Linked DNA regions of Homo sapiens: region 1 is linked to region 2. The links are contacts of gene promoters, found by promoter capture Hi-C in blood cells and fetal thymus (Javierre and others, 2016). All regions are on one chromosome and are shown on one strand. Each heading gives the region's core, a stretch centred on a gene start or on the middle of the fragment in contact. The rest is flanking DNA. Distances are from core to core; before and after follow the strand shown.

Evidence for each region. Contacts are between HindIII fragments. The CHiCAGO score rates a contact against its expected background, and 5 or more counts as called.
Region 1: a contact is called between a fragment that was not itself captured here and the fragment with the promoter of PTPRU in region 2, in 1 of 17 cell types (endothelial precursors). The highest score is 6.1, in endothelial precursors.

What each region holds. Positions count from the first base shown.
Region 1 is chr1:29,682,267-29,688,888 of GRCh38, reverse strand. It overlaps LOC107984934 (a long non-coding RNA gene), which reads right to left. Exons shown (of 3, transcript XR_001737958.2): 3 at 1-2,580. Among named protein-coding and RNA genes, the nearest start is that of LINC01756, 340 kb to the right of the region's middle. The HindIII fragment of the contact is 2,019 bases long and covers 560-2,578 here.
Region 2 is chr1:29,233,197-29,239,993 of GRCh38, reverse strand. PTPRU (protein tyrosine phosphatase receptor type U) reads right to left here and starts at 3,472. Exons shown (of 30, transcript NM_133178.4): 1 at 3,277-3,472. The coding sequence starts at 3,349. RefSeq lists a silencer at 3,350-3,669. The HindIII fragment of the contact is 8,758 bases long and covers 1-6,797 here.

The DNA.
Region 1 (6,622 bases), core at 320-2,819, 450 kb before region 2:
ATCTTTGTCTGAGCCTCCAGGGTAGAAGGTTTTTCCTGCCCCAGGGAAGTGGTTTGAGGCTTTTGCTTCCGATAAGAGAAGGGTCTGGGAAGTGGGAGGGTTTTCATGTCCCTGTGCCCTTGAGAGGTGGCTGACTCAGATCCCTGTCCTGTCCCGTCTTTGTCCTGAGCTTTACCGGAAGCAGCTGATGAAGGAACGTGAACTCCTTTTAAGTGTGGGGGCTCCTGGGATGGCTCAGCTGTAAAGCCTTTGCACACTCAGCCTTTAAGAATTCATTGCAGTGTTAGCTGTCTGTTATGGCAGCCCACTCTCCCTCCAGGGTTCTGCCAGAGGTGCAGGAGTGGGTGGTTCTGTCTTTCTCAGAAGATCTTGTCATCCTTTAGGTTTCAGTTCAGTTGGCTGCCTTGCGACTCCAGCTCTCTGAAGGGCTCAAGAAAAGTTATGACTCTGTAGATTATCTGGCCTTTTTTCTCATTTTGTCTCATGTGTCTTTTCATATCCTAAGTAGAAACAGAAATTCATGCGAGAACCAAAAAAGTAAACAGAATGTTAGGAAGCTTAAGCAAATGTTGGAGGCAGCATAATGATGTGGCAGCTTCTTCCTGTAGAAAGGTCACTTTTTCATTTCAGAATTCAATAAATATTTGTTGAGCACGTATTATATGCCAGTCACTGTTCCAGACATTGGATGCATTGGAGGCAGAGAGACCAAGTGGGAGGCTGTTGGAGTAGATTGATAAACAAAGGCCCAGAGAGGGAGATAGAATATACCCAGGTCACACAGTGAGAGAGCACAGAGTTGGGATGGGAACCCAGCTTCTTTGACTCCATGCCCAGGGCTGCCCTGCCTTTCATCATGAGGTTTGCTGGAAGCCTCTGAAGATAATCTAATTATCACCCTGCTGGGAAACAAGAGCCATGGGCCAGAGCTCTGTGCCTCCAAAAGACGATGAAATTCAATTTGGGGCCTGAGAAATTCATGAAGACTAAATAAAAAGGGAACAATTGAGCTGGTAAATGTGTGGTGAGACAGGCATTCTCATGCAGTGCTGGAAACCTTTTTGGAAGACAACTAAGTAGGAACGCTCTTGAGCCTCAGCAATGTCAGTGCTCTGATGCACTGATTCCACCTCCAGGAATTTGTCCTAGAGATGCTTATTGCAGCCTGATAATAACAGTGAAAAGCTGGAAACTGTAATGCCCTGTCTATCCAACCAGAAAGAATGAAAAAGTCAATTATGAAGCATCTCAATGAGGGACCATTATGAAGCTATTAACATCCCGTTTTTGAGGAACTTTTTAATGATGTGAGAAAATGCTCACAACAGAATGGTAAGCAAAAAAAAAAAAAAAAAAAAAGAGAGAGACAGGTGAATACAGTAAGATCTCAATGACAAAATATATCGTATATAAACATCTACAATACATGCCTATAGAAAAGCTAGATAATCCTACTGACAACAGCAATAAGGAGACAGAAAAGCTGTTGGTTGAGCCCTGGCTTTGTGTCAACTATTGTGCAAAGGGCTTGCCACGCATTCGTTAGTTCTTTTAATGCTAAATGGACATACATGGAAGAAAAGGAGGCACAGAGAAGTTCATTGACAAGTCCAATGTCACAAAGCTGAGTCCAAGCTAAGATTTGAACTCAGGTCTGGAAGACTCCTCTCTCTACTGTGAACCTTTAAGGCTGAGGAGAGGGGCAGGCAGGGTCTTGGACTGACCCACTGCCCCCAGCCCCTGGAGAATTCATTCACTATCTCTTGGGAGCCTACTGAGACTCTCTCAATTGTCCTGACTAACTGAGGTCCAGATCCCCCTGACCCCCATCTCCCACCCCCAAGCTGGTCCATGCCTTTCCTCTCCATTGGGCTACATCTCCCTCCACCCCAACACACACATAATCCTCTGCATTAATCACATATTTCCCCGGTGGACCATGCTGACAGCTGGGAGGTGCATGGAGATGGACAGCCCCGTGACTGTCTCACAACCTGGGAGGTGCGTGGAGATGGATGGCCCCGTGACTGTCTCACAACCTGGGAGGTGCGTGGAGATGGACGGCCCCGTGACTGTCTCAGAACCTGGAAGATGCGTGGAGATGGACAACTCTGTGACTGTCTCACGGCCTGGGAGGTGCATGGAGCTGGACGGCCCTGTGACTGTCTGATGGCCCAAGCCCTGCTCATTAGTGCAGCTTACACATCCATCACCTTCAGCGAAAGACAAACACCAGCGCAGGAGGATCCGGGAACTATCACTCAAGGGGTCCTTAAATAGAGGGGGTAAAGAGAAACTAGCTTCTTCCCTGATTTTTTGATAAATTTTTCTTTAATGCATCAGTCTCTAGTGTCCCTGCCCAGCCTGGGCTGCCTGAGCCACTCCTCACCTAGCCTGGGGCAATCAGGAAATACACCGCCTGTCTGCTCACTCGCACGTGGAGAGCAATCTCATGAGGCCCCCTGGATTTTATCCTCCCCTCCCTGAATGTGCAGATATCTCATCCACCTCTTGTTTTGATGGATCTAGATGTTCTGATCCGAAATGTGGTGCAGCAGCTGAGCAGAGGAGTGAAGCTTCCTGGAAGGAGGAGGAGAGAAGGGATTAATTCCGCCACACTTACCATTCTCACCCCAGCTCATCCTGCCCTGCCCAGCCAGCCCTCTGCACCGCCTGCACCTCCCTTCTGTGGGGTCCCGAAATGGCAGCTATACTGTGGGCATGCCGGTGTGTTGGTCACCGGCATCAAGCTGCCCAGACCTCTTTCCCAGAAGGATCTCAGATCCAGCCAGGCCCCCGTTATTATAGATCTCAGCCTACACCATAGGCATAGGTGCAAGCAGAGAGGACTTTAATTAATTTTGTGTGTGTGTGTGTGTGTGTGTGTGTGCGTGTGTGTTCTCCTTTACAAAGCATTTTCCTATCCATTCTCCACATCTCTGCAAGGCCAGGAGATTTATTAGCCCCACTTTATAGATGAGGAAAGTGAGGCACAGACAGGTAAGATGTTTACCACTTGAAGTTACCCAGCTAGTTAAGTCATGGCCATTGGACTCCAACTCGCGTTTGACTGATACAAAGTCACTGGGTTCCCTGGGTCACAAGGGCTTCTTGAGATGCAGACACTGAGATGGAGTTGGGGACATGAGTGGAGATGCTTATTAGGGATGGACAGAAAGGGGAAAGGAAGGAAGGAGGGGCCAGAGGGGAGGAAGTCAGCCTGGTCCACAGCCAGAAGGTAAGTAGCTTGAGTCAGCTGTCAGAATTGCCCAGCGCAGGGCAAAACTGGCTGGGCATTTCCACCCTGTCTTGCTCAGCCCCTGAGTGTGTGCTCCCAGGAAGGGAGCCCCTGCAGCAGAGCTAACAGAAGGAGGCCCTCTGTGGACTGCACTCTCGGAGCTGGGAGCAAGCCTTTCCTTGATGGTGCCTCTGGGTGTGCGTCTCCTTGTCTACTACTCACACAGGCTAAAAGTTCAAGTGCAAGAGAGTGAGTAGGTCCCTACTCTTTCGAGCACAAGAGCGGGATAGGAAGGATAAACTGTCAGGGCATCCAAGTGGGCCCCTCCTCATCTGTCACAGCACTCCCCTGGTGCTGCTCACATTCATTTCTCCATGCAGGGAACTCTTAGGGATCACCAGGTTCTGCACACATTCCTCCCTGCCCCCACTGCACTGCAGCAGCCCCCCACCTCCTGCTGATCAGACTCCATTACCCTCACCAAGACTGCGACCTCGTCTTCTTGCTTTTCTAGTCCCTGGGTACAAGGAGCCCAAATACCCAGGCAGCCACCATGGCAAACAAGCTAGAGACTCTTACTGTGTTCCCTGGAACATGCAGGTCCCCCTTGGGGACCAGGATGTCCAGCCTTGCAGAGCCCAGAGTCGCAGGGATGGGAGTCACTAAGTCTGGCAGTGGTTCACTAGGAGAATAGTAAGTGGGGCCACTTTGGCTCCTACCTGTTTTTCTTAAGTCCATGTACTCTTCTTATTGGGGAGCAACCCTTATATAGGGCTTTGATTAGATGCATATACTGCATCCTGAAGGATGGAACCTTGTGCTCACAGGGTATTTCCTCCAAGCTGGCGCTCTGGCTGGGCCCTCAGCAGGCCCCTCCCACACTCTGTAAGGTGGGCAGCGGCTGGGTGGTATGGTATGTGATATAAACATGGGCCCTTCGTTGTGAGTCTGTGCCTGCACCTACTCTACAGTAAAGTGGGTCCCCTGGTCTGACACACTATTATGTGGGATCCTGTGCCAGTGGATCGAACAATCCATCAACCCCGGGGTAGGAGTGCCGGCTGAGACCCTGCAGGCAGGAAAGACAAACCCCTCCCAGGAATGGATGGTTGTTCCTCTGAGATTAGACTGCTGTGCCTTCCACGTGGAAGAGCCCAGTGTAATGGAGTTGACTTGTCAGTTGGCCTCCGTGAGGCCTGGTGCCATCGCAGGGACTTAGCCATGGTTCCGCTGCTGGCATGTTGGTTTCCAGAAGCAGCAGCGGGAGATCAGCCTGGAAAAGCAGGAGCCATGCTGCTGTGCCCGTGCACAGCCTCCACCCCCATCATGCCAACACTGAGGTGGCTGAGGGCAGCTGTGCCTGTGCACAGCCTCCACCCCCATCATGCCAACACTGGGGTGGCTGAGGGCAGAGAAGGATGCCAACCAGTTGGATCACCTACTTGGTTGTTTCGTGTTGCCCCCGCCTGCCTTGGGGAATGCTCTCAGGTGACCATGAACCTGTGACACAAAGATTTGAGCACTTACTGTACTAGGTGCTGAGCTGTGAGCTTTACATCTGTTAGTTCATTTATTATAACATAGGAGCTCTCACCATCCCCATTTTATAGATGGGGAAACTGAGGCACAGAAAGGATCAAGTATCTTGTCCAAGGCTACTCGGCTAGGGACTGGAAGAGCCAGGGTTCACATGCAGGCATCTGGCTCCACAGAGCTTCTCTGAACACCCAGAATGGGTCCTGGTCCTGTTCTCTCCTCCAGGAAGTGCCTCTGACCCACTCCTCCTCAGAAGACAAAAATGCACAAAGGGTAGGAAGAGGGCTCATCACTGATTCTGCATGCCCTCCACCTTAAAGAGCCACCATGAAGACCCAGGCACCCAGAGGTAAGACTGGCACTAATCCAGCCTTCTGGGGCAGATCCATTGCAGCTGGGAGTGCGTGCAGCGTAGCCTTGTGGAATACGTTCACTGAGCATCTACTATGTGCCAGCCCCTGTGCCTGGGATTTCTTGGTGGACAAAAGCAGACCCTCCCCTACCTGTGAGGGTTCACAGTGGGAGTGCAGATCAAGTTTTAAGTGACACTCATGGTAGGTCTTATCAAACAAAGCAGATGGAGCTATCAGGGCCTATAATGGGGGCGCTGATCTGGCTGGGGAGTCAGAAAAGACTTCCCGGAGGAGGAGACACTGGAGCAGACCAGAAACCTGGAAATGCACTCCTCGGAATATTGTGAATGGGACTGGAATGCCAGTTGGGTGTCTGGGCTGAATGATGGTTAAGATCTCCAAATCCTAAAAGCCTATGATTCTGACTTATTATTTCCTGGTTCTAAGATTTTATTGACTGAAGACCTTAAGACTTGGAGATGTAAGATTCTGGTAGCCGAGAACCATGGGGTTCTCAGGTGCTGAGATTCTCACGCACAAGCCTTTGCTGCTGGAGAAGCACCACACAGAAGCTGCCAAGGGCCAGGAGCTGGCTTTCCCTCTTCCTGGGCCCCCAGCCAGGCCCATAACAGGATGTCTATGCAGCTCTTTGTCACTTAGAGAATGTAAATTTATTCTGCATTTCCAGCGCCAGGCACTCACCTTATCTGCATGTAACAGTCACCAGAATAAATATTAGAAGACAGGTCTGTGGAGATCTTCTGTGTGTACATGAGTTAAATCCTCCAGCCAGTTAATCCAGGCAGGGATTTCAACAGAAATGCTATTCTTATATTAATTACAAGGAGGAGCTGGTAACTGGGGCTCTGTTCCATTTGAGGAGGGGCTGCTGTCTCCTGCTGGAGGGATGGAGAAGGGGCCTTTGTGTGCCGAGGCTGAGGGACTGAGTGGGTGGGGAGAGGGAGAGCATCTGTCAGCAGTGTGGTTGCAGGTGGGGCTGTTTTCCACCCAGTATCCGGGGCCCTCAGCGTGAACTCTCGCCTGGGCTCACTCAGCGCTGGGGCTATAGAAGCTTCCCCAGTGGGGTCAGAGGGAGCAGGGCAGCCTTGCCACGGGTCACACACTGCACTGGGCACTGGCTGGGCTCCAAAGTCACATAGATAGACCAGATCTTGGCTCCCCCACTCAGCAGCTCAGCCATATGACCTTGAAGAAGCCACGTCACCTCCCTGGGGCTCAGCTTCTTCAACATGATCCACAGTCCTATCCACCCACCTGCCTGGTGGTTCCAAGGATGGGAGGAAAACACCAGGCATCAGGCACCTCATGAGCATTCATCCCAGCAACAGCCCTCATGACACTTGTGGGCAGCCAGGCACTGCTGGAAACGCTGCACAGGGGTTAGTCCTCGCCCCAGCCCAGTGAGGGGGTGCTGTCATTATCCCCACCCACAGATGAGGAAACTGAGGCACGAGGAAGTTAAGTGACTAACCCA
Region 2 (6,797 bases), core at 2,223-4,722:
CAAAACAAGATGCAGCTGGACAGGCAGGCAGGAGCTAGAGCCAGCAACAGGGCCAAGGGATAAGGACTTCACCCTGAAGGCAATGGGGAGCCTTCAAAGGGTTTTAAACCCTTTGAGTTAAAATGTACTTTACAAAGATCCCTGGCACCATGAGGGAAAGAGGGAAGGAGGAGGCTGGAGTCTTCCTGCAGGTGAAAGATAGCTGAGGACGGACAGAAGGAGACAGATGAAAGAGTCTCTGAGAGGGCAGACAGGACGTTCCAGGATGCAGGAGGGCAACTAGGAAAAGGGGGGAGGGGGAGGAAGGAGGAGCACAAGGTACCCCCTGCAACTCTGGCCAACCCAGTCCTGCATGGAAAGGCCACCCCATATGCCCAGCTGAGCTGATGAAAATCATGGAAGGATGGTGGCCTGTCTCCATCAAGCACGATGCTTGCCCTAGGTTTTTTCTGACACCAGAGCTGGGCAGCAGGCTGTCCAGGAGCTCAGCGTCCCCACCTCGGCCACTGTCACTGCTTCCTGCTAAGTCCCCTCCCCTAGCCCCAGGGAAAAGGGAGGGATGCCCAGACAAGCCTTTATTGCCCAACCTGAAACCACTGGGCAGCCACTCCCTCATTCCTGCCGTCCACAACTCCTGCGACCAAAAGGACAAAATAGCAAGAACACAGCAGAATAAATAACTACCAGGTTTGCAAGGCTGAGAAGGCATCACACACCGCCCCTACCCGGAAGCTCCGGAGCCATTCAGGGAGCTGGGCTGACTCTGTCCAGACTGGGGACAAGGGGTATCACATCTATTCTACTTGGGCTTCTGAGTTCATCTCTAAGAATAACAAAGGGGGCCAGGAACTTTACAAGTGAGGTGATTTGCCAGACATCACATGAATAGCAAGTAGCAGAGGCAGAATTTGACACCTAATACCCCAGCTTTAAATCACAGCCTCTGTCTGGGGCTTTGCAACAACTCTCAAATCCATTTTTTGTTCCCTGGCACTCACAGACAGAGCCTTACTTTACAAGGTACTTGGTATCTACCAAAAGTGCCATACACCATTATCATGATGGCTATGAGGCAGAAGAGGAAACTGAGGCATCAAGAATGGGAGTAACCTGCTCTAGGCCTCACTCCCAAACTTCAGTTCCTGACAGTCCTCCTGCTGGCAGGGCTTGGGGCTTGTGAGTGTTCTTGAAATCAAAGCGATGGTGGTAGGAGCGGGGATGGGGCGCATACAGAACCCCGCGGGTTTGATTTCACGGTGGGAGAGGGAGGCAAAGTTGCCGCAGGACATGGGGGAGAAGTTGGGGAGGATGGGGTGGGAGGTCGCCTTGGGCGTCCTTTCGGGAACGGGGAGGTCAAAGCTAAAGCTGTGCCCTATGGCCCCGGAGCTGCAGGGCGAGGCCCAAGCGCTGGCCAGTGGCCGGCGCGAACGCTGGAGCCACAGGAGTTCCGGCCCGAGACACCGGAGCCAGCAGCAGGGCCGCGAACGCGATGCCGGGGAGGTCAGTTGTCTGCGGCTGGCGACCGTGAGGAAGCGGCTCCGCTCCAGCACGTGTCTCGGCTCGGATCCCGCCCCGGGCGTCTCCCGGCTACCCGGAGCCCGCGGAGCAGCCCCGCCGGTGGCGAGGGCGGGGGAGGTCACCCGGAGCAGGGCCCCGAAACTCCGCGGGAAGGGGCCGCGGTCTAGGATCCCAGGCCTCAGGGTGGGATGTGGAACACGCGCACGCACACACATCCGACACACCGTCCACACTCCGACGAGCACACGGACACACAAACACAGGCTCCGTATACATACATTCAGCTGCGCGCACACACACACGCGCACGCACACCAAAGACACCAGACTCCGAAACACACCCGGAGAACGCGACCACACAGCAGACAAGCGCGGAGCCACACGCTCACACTCACGCTCACACTCAAGCACACACCTGGCGGTCCCGGCCGGCCGGGAGGCCGCACAAAGTTGCAGGCTCCACCAAGGGAGTGTCCCGGGAGGCCCGGGCGTCCCCCGCGCGTCCTGCGCGCCAAGGGAGGGGGCGCCGTCCCCCGGCGGCGAGCCAGGCCCTGCCCGCGCCCGGACGTCGCAGCCCAGCCCGGGGACAGCCCCCGCCCGGCCGCCCGGGGCGCAGCCGCGGCCCGGCCACCGCAGGAGCGCCCGCCGGTCCGGCCCTCCCCTGCCCGCCCGCCGGCCCCTCGCTGGGGCCCGCTGGCCCGGGCGCCCCGCAGCCCCGGCGCCGCCTCGGATCAGCCGCCCGCCAGCGCCGCGCGGAACTTGCGAAACAACAAACAGTCCGACATGCCCGAGGCGGCGGCCGCGGGGCCCGGTCCTCCCCTGAGCCTCGGGCCCTGCCCGACCCGGGCAGCCCAGGGGGCGCCGCCGCGACAACTTGTTCCGGCCCAGCGCGCCACACACGCGCACACGCACACGCGCGCACACACGTCCTGCCACCGCCCCCTCGGGCGGCCCCGGGACCAGGGCACACTCGCAGCCGCGGCCCAGGCGCGCTCCACACTCGCAACATTCCTGGACGCGCAGCCAGCACACACGGACACATTCGCACACACTCACATCCGTTCCAGACTCGCTCCCACACACGCATTCCCGGCACACTTGGCATTCACTCGGACCCACGCGGCCCCCGGCAGCACACACCACATACCCTAGACACTCCCCACACGTACACAGCGCACGGACACACACGTTCCGGACCCGTTCCCACGCCTTCACACATGTACACGGATCTCAAAAGCACACACGCCACACACGCGTTCCCGGATCCACACTCAGGCGGGATCCAGAGAGCACCCTTGGCCACAGGCATAACACAAACACACAACCCACTCGCAGACACAAAACAAACAGCACTCCCGGCCAGGCATACAAAATGCAAACAAATGCAACACATTAGCAGATACAACTCCCGCAACACAACCAAACTCAGATGCACACACAACCCACTTGGCCACACAAACACTACACACTGGCAGACCCACAAGACACTCAGCGCACACCCAATGCCTCGATGCACACAACATTCACCCCCAACATACTCGCCGACACACATCACCTTTTCTTGCGCACAGAACTCACGGACACACAACATTCGCAGTCACGCAACACCCCGGGCACACAATCGCCCATCCTACGCTCAGACACACACAGGGAGCACGCTCGTAACGCCCGGTCACTCAACACTCACACTTTCTTCCGAGCTACGCCACGGGCCCCGAGGCTCGGCGGGGCAGGCTCGGTCCGGCCGCCGCGCGCTTACCTGCCGGAGTCTCGGTCTCCGGCGCGCAGAGCTGGAAGGTGAGTGCCAGCACGAGCGCCTGGGCACGGGCCATGGTTGGAGCGTCGCCGCCCGTCCCGGGGCCCGGCGCGGGGGACGCCGCCCCCGGAGCCCGAGCCCAGCCCGAGGCGAGCCGGAGCCCGAGCCGGAGCGGAGCGGCGCGGCGCGGAGCGGGACTGGCGCCGAGTCCAGAGCGCGAGCCGGAGCAAGCGGGGCGCTGACGTCAGGCCCGGCCGCGGGTTCGGCGGTCTCGCGGCGCTCCCTGCTGGCCACGGCGGGTGCTGCAGCGGGTCCGGCCGCCCGCTAGCCCTGGCGCGCCCCTCCCCCGCTCCCGCATCCTCCCCGCCATGAGGCCCCGCGGCTGGGTCTGGACGCCCACGGACGTCTCCACGGACCGGGCACCAACACTGCCAGGCGAGCACGCTCATGGCCCACGCCTAGCTCCCGTACAGCGCTCTCAGGGACGGTGACCCAGGGACACCCGGCCTCTGTCCCATCCGATGCCTGAATCCCTTGTACCTTGGCGCCTTCAAATGCGTGTTCTACATACCTCCAGGAACAGGGCGCTCATCACCTGGCCAAGAGCGGTTGTTGGGGCTTTGGAAACGCCGGCTTTTAGAAAGTTTTTCATTTCATGACGTGCAAGTCTACCTCCCTCACTAGCCCTCACTGGTCCTACTCTACCTTCTGGCTACACAGGTTAAATGTATTTGGGCCTCTACCCAGAACGAGCCCTCGCACTATGATCTGCAAACTCGTTGCTCATTACTATGTAAGACCAGGTACCTTCTATGTGTTTAACCCACATGGACTCATTTAATCATCATATATTAGGTATGCAATAATTATACTGCATAAATACTGTTATGCAACAGTATTTGACAGCACCGAGATTTGAATCAAAGTTGTTTGGTTTGAATTGAATAGGGGCTGAGACCTTCCTCCCATCTGGACACCTATTCATTCAACAAATATTTATTGGGGTCTATTCATTTATTCAACAATTACTATAGGCCAGGGTAGAGATATAAAACAGACAAAAATTCCCTACTCTCATGGACCTTACATTCCAGTGGGAAGACAAGAACAGTAAACAACCAAAAAAACAAAAACAAAAAAGCAAACCCTCTGGTGTACGTCCTTTATCACTGTCTCATACACCAGGAAATTTGGGGGTGGTGGGGGGACAGGGAAGGGAAGGGGAATTGTTGCAATTTCAAATAGAGTGCGGGCTATATGATGAGTTCATTATCTGTCTCCACCTCTAGAAATGAGCTCCCTTGGGAAAAGACTCATCTTGTATTTCCGTGCCCAGTATATGGCATGTTTTTATTATTTTATTTTATTTTATTTTATTTCAAGATGGAGTTTCACTCTTGTTGCCCAGGCTGGAGTGCAATGGCGCAGTCTTGGCTCATTGCAACCTCTGCCTCCCAGGCTCCAACAATTCTCCTGGCTCAGCCTCCCAAGTAACTGGGATTACAGGTGCCCACCACCACGCCCGGCTAATTTTCGTATTTTTAGTAGAGACAGGGTTTCACCATGTTGGCCAGGCTGGTCTGGAACTCCTGACCTCAGGTGATCCACCTGCCTCAGTCTCCCAATGTGCAGGGATTACAGGCGTGAGCCACCGCGCCCGGCCTCTGGCACGTAATTGATGCTCAATAAATACTGACTGGATGGAATGAATGAAAGGGAAATGGTCCTAGCCTTCATGAATCTTACATTCTATTAGGAGAGCCCAACAGCAAACATGTACATAAATATATCATTACCATCTAAGATATGCAAGCTAAAGGAAACGAGGGAGTATAATGATAAAGAACATAGGGAAGGGGCATCTCCTTTAGATAAGTGGTCCAAGAGGGCTTTGCTATAGAAGTGACATGGTGACATTTGAACTGAGACCTGAAGTATGAGAAGGAGCCAACCTCATGCAAATCAGTGGAGAGGAACATTGCAGTCAGAGGGGACAGCCTGTGCAAAGGCAGGAGCTGGTGGGTACAAGCAGCTGCAAGGAAGCCGGGCAGCTGGCATGGAGTGAGTCAGGGGCAGAAGGGAGCCAGGTGCAGCTAGACAAGTCAGCAGGGTCTGTAGGTCAGGCAAGAAACTATGAGCAAGGAAGGGGCTTGAGGTTCAACCCTAAGAGTAATTAATGGGAGGCCACTGAAGTGGAGTAATTAAGCAGAGGAGTAATAAGGAGTAATAAGTTCTGATCTCTGGGTTTTTTTTTTTTTGTTTTTTTTTTTTTACAGCTCCAGCTATAAAGACTGCTGAAGTAGGGAAAGCCATGGGCAGATGGGTCTGACCACTGGGCAGTGACACTGAACAAAGCGTAGGAGTTCAAGGTATATGTAGGCCCTCCCTGTGCCCTGCCCCTCCTAGCTGGCTTCATGCTGAGATGGACACACCTTGAAGCTGCCCTGGGGCTGGAGGAGGTATCGCTGGGTTGAGAGTTCCTGGGCTCTTGGTCTCCTCTCTTGTGAGAGCTGATGAGCTCCACACTGAGTTAGGAAAGGGACCAAAAGACACAGCAGGCAAGAATTAGACACAGATAATTAAATAGGGAGAGGGAGGCAGAAGCAAGAAGAAACCAAGGGGAAACCTTAGGGAAGAAACTAAGATACAGAGACGCTGGAGCAGAGAGGAGCCAGAGAGGCCCACCCAGAAAAGGAAACTCAAGGAGAGAAAACCAGTGAACAGAAGAAACAACCAAGGGTGCTGTTTGCAGAGGGCTCTTGAGAGAGCCTCAAAATAGGAGTTTTACCAGTGATCCCATTTTACGGGTGTGGAAACTGAGGTTCAGAGAGCATATGACACTTGCCTAAGGTGACACAGCTAGTAAATAGACGGCGGGCCCTAGATTTGAACCCAGATCTGACTGATTCCACATCCCTTTGCCCTTTGTGCAGGGGAAGATGGCAGAGACTATAATGGAGGGAGAAAGAGAACACAAGCAACAGGTAGACAGATGAGAAGAGGACTTTCTGCTTTACTTTTAAAAGACCACAAACTTCAGCCGGGCACAGTGGTTCACACCTGTAATCCCAGCATTTTGGGAGGCAGAGGCGAGGTCAGGAGTTTGAGACCAGCCTGACTAACATGGTGAAACCCTGTCTCTACTAAAAAAAAAAAAAATACAAAAATTAGCCAGACGTAGTTGCGGGCACCTGTAATCCCAGCTACTCAGGAGGCTGAGGCAGGAGAATTGCTTGAACCTGGGAGGCGGAGGTTGCAGTGAGCCAAGATCGCGCCATTGCACTCCAGCCTGGGCAACGAGCAAAACTCTGTCTCAAAAAAAAAAAAAAAAAAAAAAAAAGACCACAGACTTCTATAATCCTTGAGAGAAGAAGGAAGAAGGAAATTCCTGGCCTGGAGTGACCAGCCCAAATCTAGGGAAAAGGAGATGGCACCACAGACCGTTCTAGGCCATGAGGAAATTCAATTACCTGCAACTCATGGAATATTTATGACACCTACCCTGTGCCAGGCTCATATCGGGT